Linked DNA regions of Homo sapiens: region 2 is linked to region 1. The links are contacts of gene promoters, found by promoter capture Hi-C in blood cells and fetal thymus (Javierre and others, 2016). All regions are on one chromosome and are shown on one strand. The core of a region is centred on a gene start or on the middle of the fragment in contact, and the rest is flanking DNA. Distances in the headings are between cores, read along the strand shown.

Region 1 (6,744 bases), core at 1,176-3,675:
GTAAAGAACTGTAGTTTTTCATGCTCTTGGACTGTTATGTAACTCCAATTGCAATTATACAAGTGGGGAGTTCATCCTCCAAATTATTTGATTTGTGCAGACAAATGAAACAGGTTTAATTCAAATACGATGGCTCTCTACCTAAGCATTGCTAAATGAACTGAAAATCAATGTGCCAATTACTTCTGCTTGTCAGGGCCCAAGAAGACTTTCTTTTTATTAGGCCAGGGGACTTCTATAACCTGCATGCTTTAAATTATACCATCCCAATAACTAACTTCCAAATACACTGACTAAAAAATGAATAGAACCCAAAACTAAAATTATTTTGATCTTTATGGTGCTCCAAAAACTTAAGATGCAACTGTTCTTCTAAATAAATCCATAACTTACAGATTATTCCTTCTTTACTTTCACAATTTTTACGTTGCTGCCAGAAGTCTTCTCAGCATTTGCTTTGAATTCTGTCTTCAGTGCATCTCTCACTGCTTTTGCACAGATCTGGGAGTATCGGATGTAGCTGGGAGAAAATGAGAGAAGGTATATGGTTAATTATCAATATTCCAGCCAGACAGCTGTTACTGTGTTTTCGCTTTTCTTCCTGTACTTTTTATTTTGGTTTGGTTGTACCTTATTGTAGAATTGGATTTAAAAATATGACTAATGCCAAAAAGTATCTATACAAAGAAAAAGAACTAGAAAAAAATGTACCAAAGTATTAACTGGTGTTTGGATGGATGATCTTTGATTTTTCTTCTTTGTACTGTGTTTTCTCTTTAGTGTATATTAATTCAAAATGAAAGATGCATAAATGTTTTTAAAAATCCCACAGCATAGAAAAAAAGAGACTGAAATGTTTAGAGACTATAACATGAATCATGAATTCTCTCCTCGATTTCTCTCCTTAAAACTTTAATTATATTATTCTTGGAAAATGAGGTATACATAAGAGAAAACTATTTTGAATTAAAACAATTCGTTCTAAATTATTTAAACTCTTCTCTGAGAATACTGAATTCTGTCTCACAAGTCTGCCACTGAAAATAACCTCCTAATGAAGATTTCTAAATCAAACTGAAAAGTGCTTAGAGAACATCATCAATTCTAGCAAAACTGTAAAACCTGCTTCCTGTTTGGTAGATGGACTCCCATCAACACTGTAGTTTCCAAAAGATGTCAGATCACCTTTCCCACTTTTGAAAAACAGGAAGCGGGGAGGGGTGCTATTTTCTCATGTTTTAGAATTTATTTTGGGGACTCAGAGGTATGAGTTCCAATGCCTGCTTCCATTCTTACTAACTGGGTGACCTTCAGGCTGTTCAACCTTTTCAGCACGTTTACTCACTCACCTGAAAAAAACAACAGAATAAAAGGACAATAATACCTGTCCTGCTGATAGCTGGGAGGAGGAAAAACAAGTGTGAAAAAGTATGGATCACAGGGTAGGTTGCCTAATAAACGGTATCTACTACTGGGACTATCATCCTTCCATCCTTCCAATTCTACAAGACTTCGCTGGCTTGACCTCAGCAAGTCGGGAAGCTCCGCTGTAGTGTACCCACAAAATGTAAAGTGCTACACCATCCAGTCAACTAACAAGGTGTGTCACCTAGAGCAAGGTACTTCTGCTCACTCAGGTGCACGGGTAAAAAAAAATCGGATGTGACAGCTAGACCAATGGTTTGCGGTTCCACTATGAGACACCATGTCCTCAAGTGGGTTCCATATTTGAGCTTTCCAGGAGCCACCTCTCATCTTTGTGAGGGGCTCTCGACAGTTATGGCTTTCACCCCTTTTAGACATAAGGAAACCTGAAATCAACAGGACTTAAAAGTTTAAAAAAAAAATGTGTAAAGTTGTAAAAGGCTCCACCTCGATGCTGGATTAAAGGTCAAAGCTGCTAACGGCGGTCACGTGGAGAGAAATCTCCTGTTTCCCGAGGTGGATGTGACTGTACTACTTTCACCACCTGGCTCCAGCACCATTCTAGAAGAAAAAGGTTTGCTAAATAAGAGCTGGCCTCTCTCTCGAGAAACCTGCCATTCACAAAGGTGTCCAGGGGCACTCTGTGGGTGCTGGGCCGCACCGTCGGGAAGCGAGGCAGGACACAGACGCGCTCCCACGCGAGGTCGAGGCCGCGCCCGCCTGAGCGCTTTGCCCACAGCGACGCCATCTTGGCGGCGACGCCCGAGGCTTGGCCCAACCCCGGTCACGCGTGGGGCCGCTGCTCTGTGTCCTGCATGACCTCTGGGCACCGGGATGCGCGCGGGCCGGCTCGCGAAGCCCTTCCCTCTGGAGGCCTGGGCCTACCTGAGTCCAGCCTGTCTCCAGTAGGCCACCATGCTGTAGCGAAAGCGGAGCTCGTCGGGCCGAATCGCCAAGACGCCGGCAATGTCGGCTCAGCCGGGCGGTTCAGCCGCAGGAAGATCAGACCACAGAAGCGGAAGAGGCGGGGCGTGCGGACCTGCCAATCACCGCCTCCTACCCGGCCCCGCCCCTGAGCACGGCCCCTGCTGCCCTGCCGCGGAAGCCCCCCGGCGCCGGGAGCCAATGGGCGCGCGCGGTCTGGACTGCGGGTGCCAATCCCGGGGCGGGCCGGCCGGCCGCGCCCACCTATTGGCTCCAAGAGCTCCCGGGGCGTGTGTCCCCCGACCTTCCGTATTACCCCGGCGGGGACGACGGGGGCAAGAAGGCCGGGGTGTCCCCGCTCGCTAAGGACCACTGAGCCGCGTGCTTTCGGGAAGCGAGGACGCGAGGCGGCGCGGGCACGGCCGCCCCGAGGGCCTGGCTTTGCGCCCGCTTCAGGGAAACGGCGCCGGCTTTTTTAAATCTGTGGACAGACAAGCGTGTCCTGAGAGCTGAGATTTAGAAAGGCTCTTAGGGCACCCCCTTTCTCGGAGTGACACTAAACCCTGGAAACCCAGTGGAGGACCCCCTAGCGTTTTCTGTAGTTCTAGGACCTGCTTCCGATGTGCGACAAGACGGAGGGTAAGGCAACAGTTGTCACTGTTGCCCGGAATGGATGGGAAGAAAAATGTGAGGAAAACCCACTGGAGGCACAGGGAACTGCCAGGCGGCCGGGAAAATGCTCATCTCAGAGCCTGTGATTTAGAGAAACTAACCCAACGCAGTGAAGGCTCACAGTCTAGGAATTAAAGTGTTTCTCTCATAAAGAAAAAAAAGCCTTTGCCCTTCACCTTTAATTACTAAAAAGAAATTATAATCAGGAAAAACATCACTTAAAAGAAAGTTTTTATTAACAAAAGTTTTCCTTAATTCACATTTCAACTTTATTAAATAGTCCAAGGGTTTCATTTATGAACACTTATTCCAGTTTAGTTCTCTTAAATTCATTTGCTTGTTGTGCATTTATGTTTAAAAAGGTAACTAACTGCACTGGAAAATGAAAATTTATAGTTTTATCAATAGGTCAGTTTTTAAAAAATCAAAGGATAAGGATTTAAAAATATTAGGGCATTACACCTTTTTCAGAACAAGGATAATTTACAGAAATTATACAAAGCAGATTTTCATCAAATATCAATTATTTAGCGATGTTTTATTTAGCTGAAATGTTATTTCACTTGTAAAAACTATCTCCGGTTACAAAAAAAAATCAGAAACCTTATTAAATTTAACCTGCTTTTACAAATGTCCTAAGAAGTCTTAAGCTAAACAAAATTTAAGTAGGAAAACGATAATTTAAAAATAGTGTGTTATACTATTTCTGTGGTTTATGTACATATATTAACTGGTCTCTTGGATAGGAAACATGACTAGAAGTTTATCACACTAAGCACTGTAAAATAAAGGCAAGAGCTAATCATCTTCTAGCAAAAATAGTCTCTATGCAACAATTGCAAATGTCAAAGCTATTATTTAGTAGTTAATTGCCTGCTACAATACATAAAACAAAGTACATTTACTGGATTGTTTTTCAGTTTGCAGCTGCCCTCTTGACATCCCAAATAAGGAATTCCCGTTAAGTAAAACCTGCAGTGCAATTCACTCAGTGGTTAGTTTCAGGCCAAGCCTCCCCCTACCATTATGCTTGTTCTTCCCCACCGCCCCCAAATCCTGCAGTGGCACCATATTATTAAAAACACTAAGTACCTGGGATTTATGCCTCAGAGCAAGACATCATTTGAGTAATTTCAAATGATACACAGCTCCTTCATGTAAAAAAGATGTTTTGTGGTCACAATTACTTCAAAAAGTAATTATATTCAAATAACCTGACATATCATGCCTTAGCAATTACAAAACCATGATTTTGACACATGGCAATTTTTAAGTTAGGCAAATGTAAAATGCTAAAAGATGTGAACAGCTGTTCTTCTGTTTAAGTTAGAGCACTGCAAAACTCAGGTAATGACTTTATTTTTTTCAGTTAACATAACCAGCCCACGATACAGCATACTAAATCACAAAGTACAAATCCAAGGAAGTTAATACCTTTACTAAGTTACAAAACTTGGGCAAATCAATACAGTACTCTTTTATAATGAAACCATACTTTTGTTGGAGTCATGTTACTTTAGTGATAATTTTCACTCCAAAAATATTTAAGTACCAAATCAAAACACTGGTTTTTAATGGTGGTTTATAGCATAGTAAGGTATTTTACACAAAATATATTTTAAAACTACACAATTTCTCCTTTTAAGTGAGCTCCCTTGTGCAAGCTGCTGAAGTGTACAGCAGCAGGGCAATGGGCGTCTATAGGAGGTGGCTCTGCTCTGTTCTGGGGTTGGTCCAAAGTCAGGTGGAGTTCCAATGTATGAAAAGCTTGAAAAATCTACCTTAAGGAGACTGAATATCAATACCAGTTTCCAAGGAGTTCTTGTTGAATTTTCACAGAAATACTGGAACCCTCAAAATCAGATAGTAATTTCAAACAACATTAATTTCAGATGATCCCTTTTATTTAGAGGCCCTGCATCTGTTTTGATCAAGTCACATAGCCTTACACCAACTTATCAAAAAAAAAAAAAAAAAAACTACCCAAAATATAGTTGTATTTTTAAAATAACAAATAAATATATAGTCAGTTTGGAGAGACCTGGAGTACCCGATGTTGTCTACCAACTGTCACGATCACTTCTCTGCAAACGCTGCTGCTGCCATTGGAGTCCTTATGGTTCCTCTTGCTGAGGCTGTCAGTTCTTCAATCTCAGCATTTAATTTATGTATTACCCATTCCATTGCTTCTCGGCCCTTAAAAAAAATCCAATACATTTATTGTTACTGAGGGAGAGCAAAGGCATATATCGAACTAATGACACACCAGGAAGTAACAAGGGGCGTGACAAGTTTAACTCAATCTCAGGATGACAGATCGTTTTTGTCCTGGCTTTTTCTAATGTTATTTAGCAAACATCAAATGCCTTGAGCAACTGGCTTGATCCATAAACTGACTTTTACTTTGTATGCAAAAGATGTTCTCAAATGAATCTACAATTAAATGACAGAATGTCTTATTTGTTTCATGATTATAGTGGTCCCCTTTTTAGGGGCAAGAAGGTCAAATCCCTTTTCTTTACATTTTAAACCAAAATCCTGTGCAAGGTCCTGCAGGATCTGGTCCTCAACTCACTCCTCACCCCTTCTCTCCTAGTGTTCTATATAGTTCCTTGAAAAACAGAGCATTCCCTACTTCCTGTCTCAGGGCCTTTGCACACGCAGCTCCTCCACCTAGAACACTCTTCTTGGAATACCCCTCGCAATCCACCTGCCCCCATTTGGCAGTCAGCAGAAACATCAGTTACTGAACACTCAATAAGCACTCTCATACCTTTCTGTACCTTTTCTTTCCTAATTACATGCTGTATGATTAATGTCACCTGCCTCTTAGTTCCACGGGGGCAGGGACCACATTTGTTTTGCTCCCTGCTGTATACCCTGTCTAGCCTAGCACTCTGCATGGCACAGAGAAGGCATCCATGAGTATCTCTTGATAACCACATTCACCATGTGTTATGTAACAGTGCATGGCATCTTTCTCTAAACTTACTGTTTCAGATCATGCATTCTCAATAAGCAAAAATTGGTTCTTGGGGGGATGGAAAAAATCTCCCTCTTTTATGTATAAAGCCCACACATATGTATATGATATATGACTTAATGGAGGTGGCAATTAGGGAAAAAATGTCTAAAACGAGTTGTGGGGGAGACAACAGTGAAAAAAGGTTGAGAAACAGTGCCTTAAATGACACGCAGCTACACATCATCGAGCACTTCCTCAGTGCTGGGCCTCAGGCTACACACTTTCCATATGTTATCTCATTCACTCCACGCCAACCCTGTAAAACGGGTAATCTCCACTTTAAAAACGGGAAACTGAGGCATAGAAAGGTTAACTTAGTTGCCCAAGGTTAAAAGGCTAAAAGTTAGAGCTTGGATGTGAACCCAGAGCCTTTGTAAGTAACTGCCCAACGTGCTGCAGTTTCCTATGGTAGAATGGGCAAGGGTCAGCTTACAAGGACACACATGCAGTCAGCACCCCATTCCATTCCCAGGAAATGAACCAGGGAATAATAACCAAGAAGCAGCCTCACTTACTTTACTAGCATTTGAGGATATCGTACTTGCCATCAGTCCTTCAAGGTAACTGCTGAGGCTAACTCCTTTCACGGTAATTATGGCTTCTTGTGTCAAAACAGTTCTGGAACAAAACATATTCACACAGGTTCAGATGACCCAGCTTTCATTTTCAAAAAACTTGATAAAAAAACCTTAAACACC
Region 2 (6,965 bases), core at 2,758-5,257, 110 kb before region 1:
CACAAATTTCCAGCATACATTTTGAGACAAAACTGTATTTTTGTAATTAATGACTTTCACATCTTGCTGCTTAGAGATCCTTGCATCTCTAAGGATCTTCCGTTTCCAAAATTGGTGACACACACTTTCCTGGGAGGAGGTGGGATTTGGGGTTGCATGCAGAGGAGAGTGAAGGAGGGTAGGGCTCAGGTGTCAGAGTCTGGGATAAAAGGCGCTGCTGTATCCGTGGAGCCCAAAGCAGTGCCTGGCACAAAGCCAACAGTCCTTGAAGAGATGTGAAATGAACCAACTGGGGAAATAGGGGGGCGTTTCCATCACTTTTCTCTGGAAATTGACGGCCTTGTCAAGGTGGCTTTTGCAATAATGGGAAGGCAAGTCTAGGAACCCCGTCTACCTGCAGTCCTCCTCACATACACACTTCACTGCTTCAGAGATGAAGTTCAAGTTTGAGAAAAATTGAGATCAGCCAATAGAAATAAGGATCCATGAACCAGAGATAAGAATTGGTTCTTCTCTTTTTCCAAAAGGAGAGAAATAAAGAAAAAATATTGTGACCCTGTTCCCCAAGGTCAGGTTGTCTCAAAGGAAACAGAGTGTCCCATCAAATGGAGTTTGAGGGAAGAAAGACATTGAGAAATGGAAAATTGAGTGCAGGGTTGGGATTACCAAACAGCTCCTGGAGCAAAGGTTAAGAATGCTTTTGTGTTTTCCCATCATTTATCCCCTGATTGGTACTTGCTTTAGTATTTTATAGCTCATTAGCAAACAGCATTCTTGGAAATTGTAGGAACTGGCCAGGGAGGGCATTCTGAACTGCGTTCTTTAGGTTTTTATGATTTGAAACTGAAGGATCACTAAAAATCACATTGCATTTGGTAAATCTGTAGTTATTCAATATTTCCCTCTCTCAGTTTCATCCTTCCGTCTGAATTATAGCCTTCAGTAGCAGTGTTCAGAATGACAAATTTTTTTCTGATGGCTCTTGAGATTGAAATGTCTTGGCCTCCTAAAGTATGGGGGAGCTCTTTAATCTAGTTTCATTCAGCTAATTGGGTACTAAAATGTTATCCTTAATTCCAAACCGAAAAACTTTTTGTACCAGATCATACTTAGATTGGCCTTAAAAAGCTATCAGTCAAAGAAACAGAGGCTCCTAATGAGAAATGGTAAAAGCTGAGGGAGAAACCAGACTGCTGATATGCAAAATTTTAAGGAAATATTAAAGTTTACTCATCTTCTCAAAGAAGAGAATTATCATCACTGGAATAGCTAGAATAATTCTTATTTGTTTCTAGGAACAAGAATTGAATGCAGAAATGGCTAAATTGCACAAAAGAGTAGAGGCCTTTTCTTAATTAGAAGTGGAAATGCAAAAATTGATTACCTGCAAGTACTGTTGCTGTGAATTAAACTTGCTTTACCTGGTTCAATTTACAGCAACAGTACATGACAACAAAGTGTTAAGCCTTTACCCATAAAATTATAGCTCATTGTACAACCGAGAAATTATCCCACATGGAATTATATAATTGCCTTCATCCACAACTATAAGCATTTCTGTTACCTTCCTATAGAAGTTAAAATATTCTCATAGCAGTTTCAGCAATAAATTGAAATTGTAATAGTAGTTTATCATTTGCCTTAAGGTTTTTACTTTTACTAAGAACTAATAGTAGTGGAGAAACCATTGAAATTCTTGGTGTGGGCCAAGAATTCTTTTGAGAGCCTGTGACAATATAAGTTCACTCAAGTCATGTTCAAGTCTCAGTGAAACTTGATTCCACAAAGGCAGTACGTAGGTTGAAAATAAATGCTGAGTCTTTTATTTCTTTATGTCTAAAAAAAGAAAGAAAAAAGCTTTTTCACTTGCTTACCTCAAATAAACATTTAAATTTTCATTCGGAAGCCGAGGTGGGCAGGTCACTTGAGGTCAGGAGTTTGACACCAGCCTGGCTAACATGGCGAAACCCCGCCTCTACTAAAAATACAAAAATTAGCCAGGCATGCTGGCACGTGCCTGTAGTTCCATAGTCCCAGCTACTCGGGAGGCTGAGGCAGGTGAATCACTTGAACGCAGGAGGCAGAGGTTGCAGTGAGCCAGGATTGCACCATTGCACTCCAGTCTGGGTGACAGAGTGAGACCCTCTCTCAAAAAAAAAAAAAAAAAAAAAAAAGTCACTTTTTTGCAATTATAAAAAGACATAGAATTAACTGATCTACACATCTGACCACAGTGAGGGCTTTGTCATGGATAATTCAGTGCATCTTCTGAAACCCAAATCTTCACTGTGAGAGTTTAAATTCATTGGAGTTTTGAGGATTAATTTCTGTCGCTGCTCTTGAAATAAACAATGCCAATGAATTTTCTTTTGCATGCATTTGTTAGCGCTAGTTCAACAATGGTAACATTTAGAAGAATGCTGCCATATTGGGCTTTGCTTCTTGCTCATTTGATTTTTCCTACAATGATACTGATGCTTTGGGTCTCCTTCTCCCATGCTTGACACACTTTTTACAAAGTAAGCTCTAAATCATAGCAAACAAAATGCAGACTATAGCGAAAGGGCTTACCATAGAATGCAAAGGATGAGTATCACGAAGTTTGCCTATATACCGTCCATGTTAATGGGTCAAAAGAGAAGACGCCTTTGGCAGCTTAATAGGGTTGAAAGGCATCTAAGAGCATTGAGTCCCTTTCTGTTTTGTTTTGTTTTGTTTTTTAAACAAAAGCCCTTGGCAAAATGATAATTAAAAAATGCTTGTTTGATGTCATTTCATGTGTGTGCCTGTGCATGTATGGATCCAACAGCCAGCAATATTCTTAATATTCTTGAAGTCAGGAACAACAAAACAGTACCTATTCTCACCACTATTAATTTTGGTCTGGAAGTGATGGTTCGCACAATTAGACCAAAAAAAATTGAAGTCGAAAATATGAGAAAGGAGAAGGTAATATTGTGATTACGTGTGGATGATATGATTGTACAGCTTAGAAAACCCCCACAGAAAATTCACCTGGTGTACGATAATAAAAGCTTAACACTCACTGAGTGCCCAGGCCCCATTCTAAGTCTCTTAATACTCGTATACTATCTAACTATAATAATAAAAGTTAGCATTGATGGAGTACTTACCATGCACACGTGTACTACTTAAGTGCTTGCTATTCTTACACCATACAACCACAACGGTAAGATTCTCATAGGCACTGAGTGTCTATTACGTGCCAGACCCTGTTGAAATACTTTAATGCTCATAACAATTAAGAGGCTTTAAATCCTATTTCTGTTACATAATATAAATTAACATATTACTACAAATGTATTTCTATAATATACTTTATAGTGTAATTATACTTATGTAATATGTTACATATTAAATTGCATATAATTTATATTACATTATATAGTTTATATGTTATAGGTTATTAATATTGTTATATTTTATATTACTACATATTTATATTTATATATTCATGTGTTACAATTATACATGTACAAAGTGATATGATATTGTATATTGTTATATATAATTTATATCATATTATATGACAATATATTATATTTTATTATATGGATTAAGGCTACATAACTTCAATTTAAATGTATAACTTTTATATCATTTTCTAATTATATATGCATAACTCGATATATTACATTAAATTATATAATTTATATTATACTGTGCTACATTATATTTTATTATATATTATAACACTGTACTTTTACATTACTACATATTTATATTTACACAGTATATTTCATATCATATAATTACACCTGTATAAGGTGAATTACATATTACATATTAAACCATATATAATTTATATTATATTAGACTACCTTACATTATATTTTAAAATCTCACTGTTTATAAAGGCAGAAACTGAGGCTCCGAGAGGTGTCCCTTGCCAGAAGTCAGGGAGCAGCTCACGGGCAGAGCTGGGGTTCCAGCCCCACTTTGGTTCCAGAAGCCCAGCTTTTAACCCTCAGGAACCGTCCAAGACCTTGCCTGGTGGAGGGGAGCTTCACCTGCCTGCTCACTCGCTACTTTGACAGGAAGTAGCAACAGCCCTGCCAAGGGCCACAGTTGTATGAATGTGTGTGAGTATGGGTGTGTATAACAGTGTGTGTGGGGTGTGTGCAAGAGTGTGTGTGTGCGTGTGCGTGTGTGTAAGGCAGTCATTTTTTAAATCCCAGATGAAGCATGGTGGCTCACGCCTGTAATCCCAGCACTTTTGGAGGCCAAGGCAGGAGGATCGCTTAAGGTCAGGAGTTCGAGACCAGCCTGGCCAACATGGTAAAACCCTGTCTCTACAAAAAATGCAAAAATTAGCCATGCACATGCAGCCCAGGACAGCTTTGAATGTGGCCCAACACAAATTCATAAACTGTCTTACAACATTAGGAGATTTTTCTTTTAACTCACCAGCTATTGCTAGTATATTTTATGTGCAGCCCAAGACAATTCTTCTTCCAGTGTGGTCCAGGGAAGGCAAGAGATCGGACAGCTCTGCTCTAAGTTAACTCTAAATTTAATGCAACCCCAGAGTAACCTGATCTTTTTAATGTGGCAAAATCATCTTATAGTTCATCTGGAAGAATAAATTATCTCAGAGAATAGCAAATAGAATTCCAACAGTGAAGGCTGTTGGCCATGGGGTTGCCCTACCAGATATCACACATATTATAACACGTTCTAGTGTGGTTCTAGTACAGGAACAGACAGAGCCTGGGAACAAAACAGAAGACCAGAAACAGGCCAAAGTTTATGGAAATTTAATATATGATCAAAGGGGCATTCAGATGTATTAGTCGGGATTTGTTATATGTAACAGAAATGCAATATAAAATACCTTAAACAAAAGGCAAAATTAGTTGAAAGGTTCCTAATACTCTGTAAAGAGCAAGGGTGTATATCTGCATTTGGCCTCATTCCCCTAGACCAAATCTCTTTTTCAGTCTGTGACAAAGCCTGTCCCAAGCTTCAGAGCTTCCAACCTCACCGTCACAGGCTGAGAAGCAGGCAACGGGCTGAGCAGTGTATTCACTGGCGTGCTTCTATTTCTATTAAAAGGCGGTTAGTGTGCATGTGGTGTTGAGGGGAGAATGTATCTTTGTGTGAATATGCTTAAAAGGCCTAACTGGTATTACTGGATGCCCCAGGGAGGAGATACACAGCAGTGATCTTTTCCCCCCTATTGGATCTCCGGAGGTGGGAATCGTTATCTTCCTCATTCTGTGGCCAGACTTTCACTGGTGTGTGCAAGGTGCTTGTTTTATTTATTTACTTATTCCCCTTAGCTGCACTTCTCTTTGCCTGTAGGCAGCAATTCCAGTATGTCTGATATGTTCCTTCTCTTTGTGTTATTGAAAAACATGTACATTGTTTGGGGCACATTGTTTTTATTATTTATGTATTTTATTTATTTTTGAGACGGGGTCTCACTCTGTCACCCAGGCTGGAGTGCATGACGCAATCTCAGCTCACTGCAGCCTTGACCTCCCAGGCTCAAGCGATCCTCCCCACTCAGCCTCGTGAGTAGCTGGGACTACAGACACACACCACCATGCTGAGCTAATTTTTGTATTTTTAGTAGAGGCGAGGTTTCACCGTGTCACCAAGACTGGTCTTGAACTCCTTGGCTGAAGCAATCTGCCTGCCCTGGCCTCCCAAAGTGCTGCGATTATAGGCATGAGCCACCATCCCCAGCCAAAGGGCCCATTATTTTTAATTGGCACAAATGATATGCTTACAGATCTCATTCTGTGTCTTCCTCACCCGGCTCTGTTTCTCAGATCTATGCACATTGCTGTGTGTGTGCTGTCATTGCTTCCAGTGTCTACATGTTTCCCTGCGTCAGTCAGGATAGAGTAGGTTATGTTGCTGTAACATACACTCCTGAGACAGTAACAGTTTAGGCACAAATGCTCATTTCTCATTCAGACCGCATGACCACTGTAGACCAACAGGAGGGTTCTGCTCTTGTTATCACCCAGGGACCTAGGTGCCCTCTCTATTACTGTCGCTTGCTATGCCAGACAAAAAGGCACAGCAAAGCATTCCCTGACTCATTTGGTAGTGGTACACGTCACTTCTGCACACATTTCCATGCCCAGATAAGTCACCCGGCTCCACCTAACCCCATATGGCAGGGAAGTTCCATTCTAGCATGTGGCAGCAGGAGAGGAAAGCTGGCACTTCTAGAACAGTCCTGATGATCCTGATGATTACTATGGACCCCCCAGGCTGCCTTCCACTCCCTGCTACACCAAACAAGGCTGTGTGGACTCATGCCTGCACAAGGCGCCTACAGACCCAGAGGACACAGCTTTGGGACACATACCCAGCAGTGGGGTTTCTGGGTAGAAGAGCAGGCACTTAATTTCACTAAAGAGTGCTGGAGTGTTCTCCAGAGCATAAGACAGGTGACTAAGAACAACAGCAGCACCAAGAGGTGCAGTCTTCTAACACCTAGAGGTTCCGAGAGGACCATAACAGAAACCAGCCGAGAAAGAAAGTTCTGAGAAGGAAACGGCAATTAGGAGACGGCCAAGGGAAGCCAGTGTTTCAAGAGGAATGGAGTGGTCACCTCTGTCTAGTGCTTCTAGGGGCCAGAAAAGATGAAATCCCTGCAAACTTATCCAGTGGGAGTAGGGGGACAGATAAAACAAGATTTGCAAATATTGATAATTATTGAAGTTGGGAAACTGAGGGTCATTATATTAGTCTCTCTTCTTTTGAATACGTTTGAACACTTTTTTTTTTTTTTTTTTTTTTTGAGATGGAGTTTCGCTCTTATCGCCCAGGCTGAAGTGCGGTGGCACAATCTCGGCTCACTGCAACCTCCGCCTCCCAGGTTCAAGTGATTCTCCTGCCTCTGCCTCCTGAGTAGCTGGGATTACAGGCACATGCCACCATGCCCAGCTAACTTTTATATTTTTAGTAGAGACAGGGTTTCACCA

The links. The method cuts DNA at HindIII sites, captures the fragments that hold promoters and counts their contacts. A CHiCAGO score of 5 or more calls a contact.
Region 2: a fragment that was not itself captured here is called in contact with the fragment with the promoter of ATP5F1E in region 1 in 1 of 17 cell types (naive B cells); the score reaches 5.3 in naive B cells.

Annotation. Positions count from the first base shown.
Region 1 is chr20:59,029,910-59,036,653 of GRCh38, forward strand. ATP5F1E (ATP synthase F1 subunit epsilon) reads right to left here and starts at 2,426. Exons shown (of 3, transcript NM_006886.4): 1 at 2,311-2,426; 2 at 394-520. The coding sequence starts at 2,342. The coding sequence ends at 397. PRELID3B (PRELI domain containing 3B) reads right to left here. Exons shown (of 6, transcript NM_016045.3): 5 at 6,562-6,664; 6 at 3,236-5,217. The coding sequence ends at 5,098. It overlaps SLMO2-ATP5E (SLMO2-ATP5E readthrough), which reads right to left. Exons shown (of 6, transcript NR_037930.1): 3 at 6,562-6,664; 4 at 5,063-5,217; 5 at 394-520. RefSeq lists an enhancer at 2,220-2,359 and a silencer at 2,380-2,669. The HindIII fragment of the contact is 5,173 bases long and covers 1-4,786 here.
Region 2 is chr20:58,921,516-58,928,480 of GRCh38, forward strand. No RefSeq gene overlaps it. Among named protein-coding and RNA genes, the nearest start is that of GNAS, 34 kb to the left of the region's middle. The HindIII fragment of the contact is 1,949 bases long and covers 3,034-4,982 here.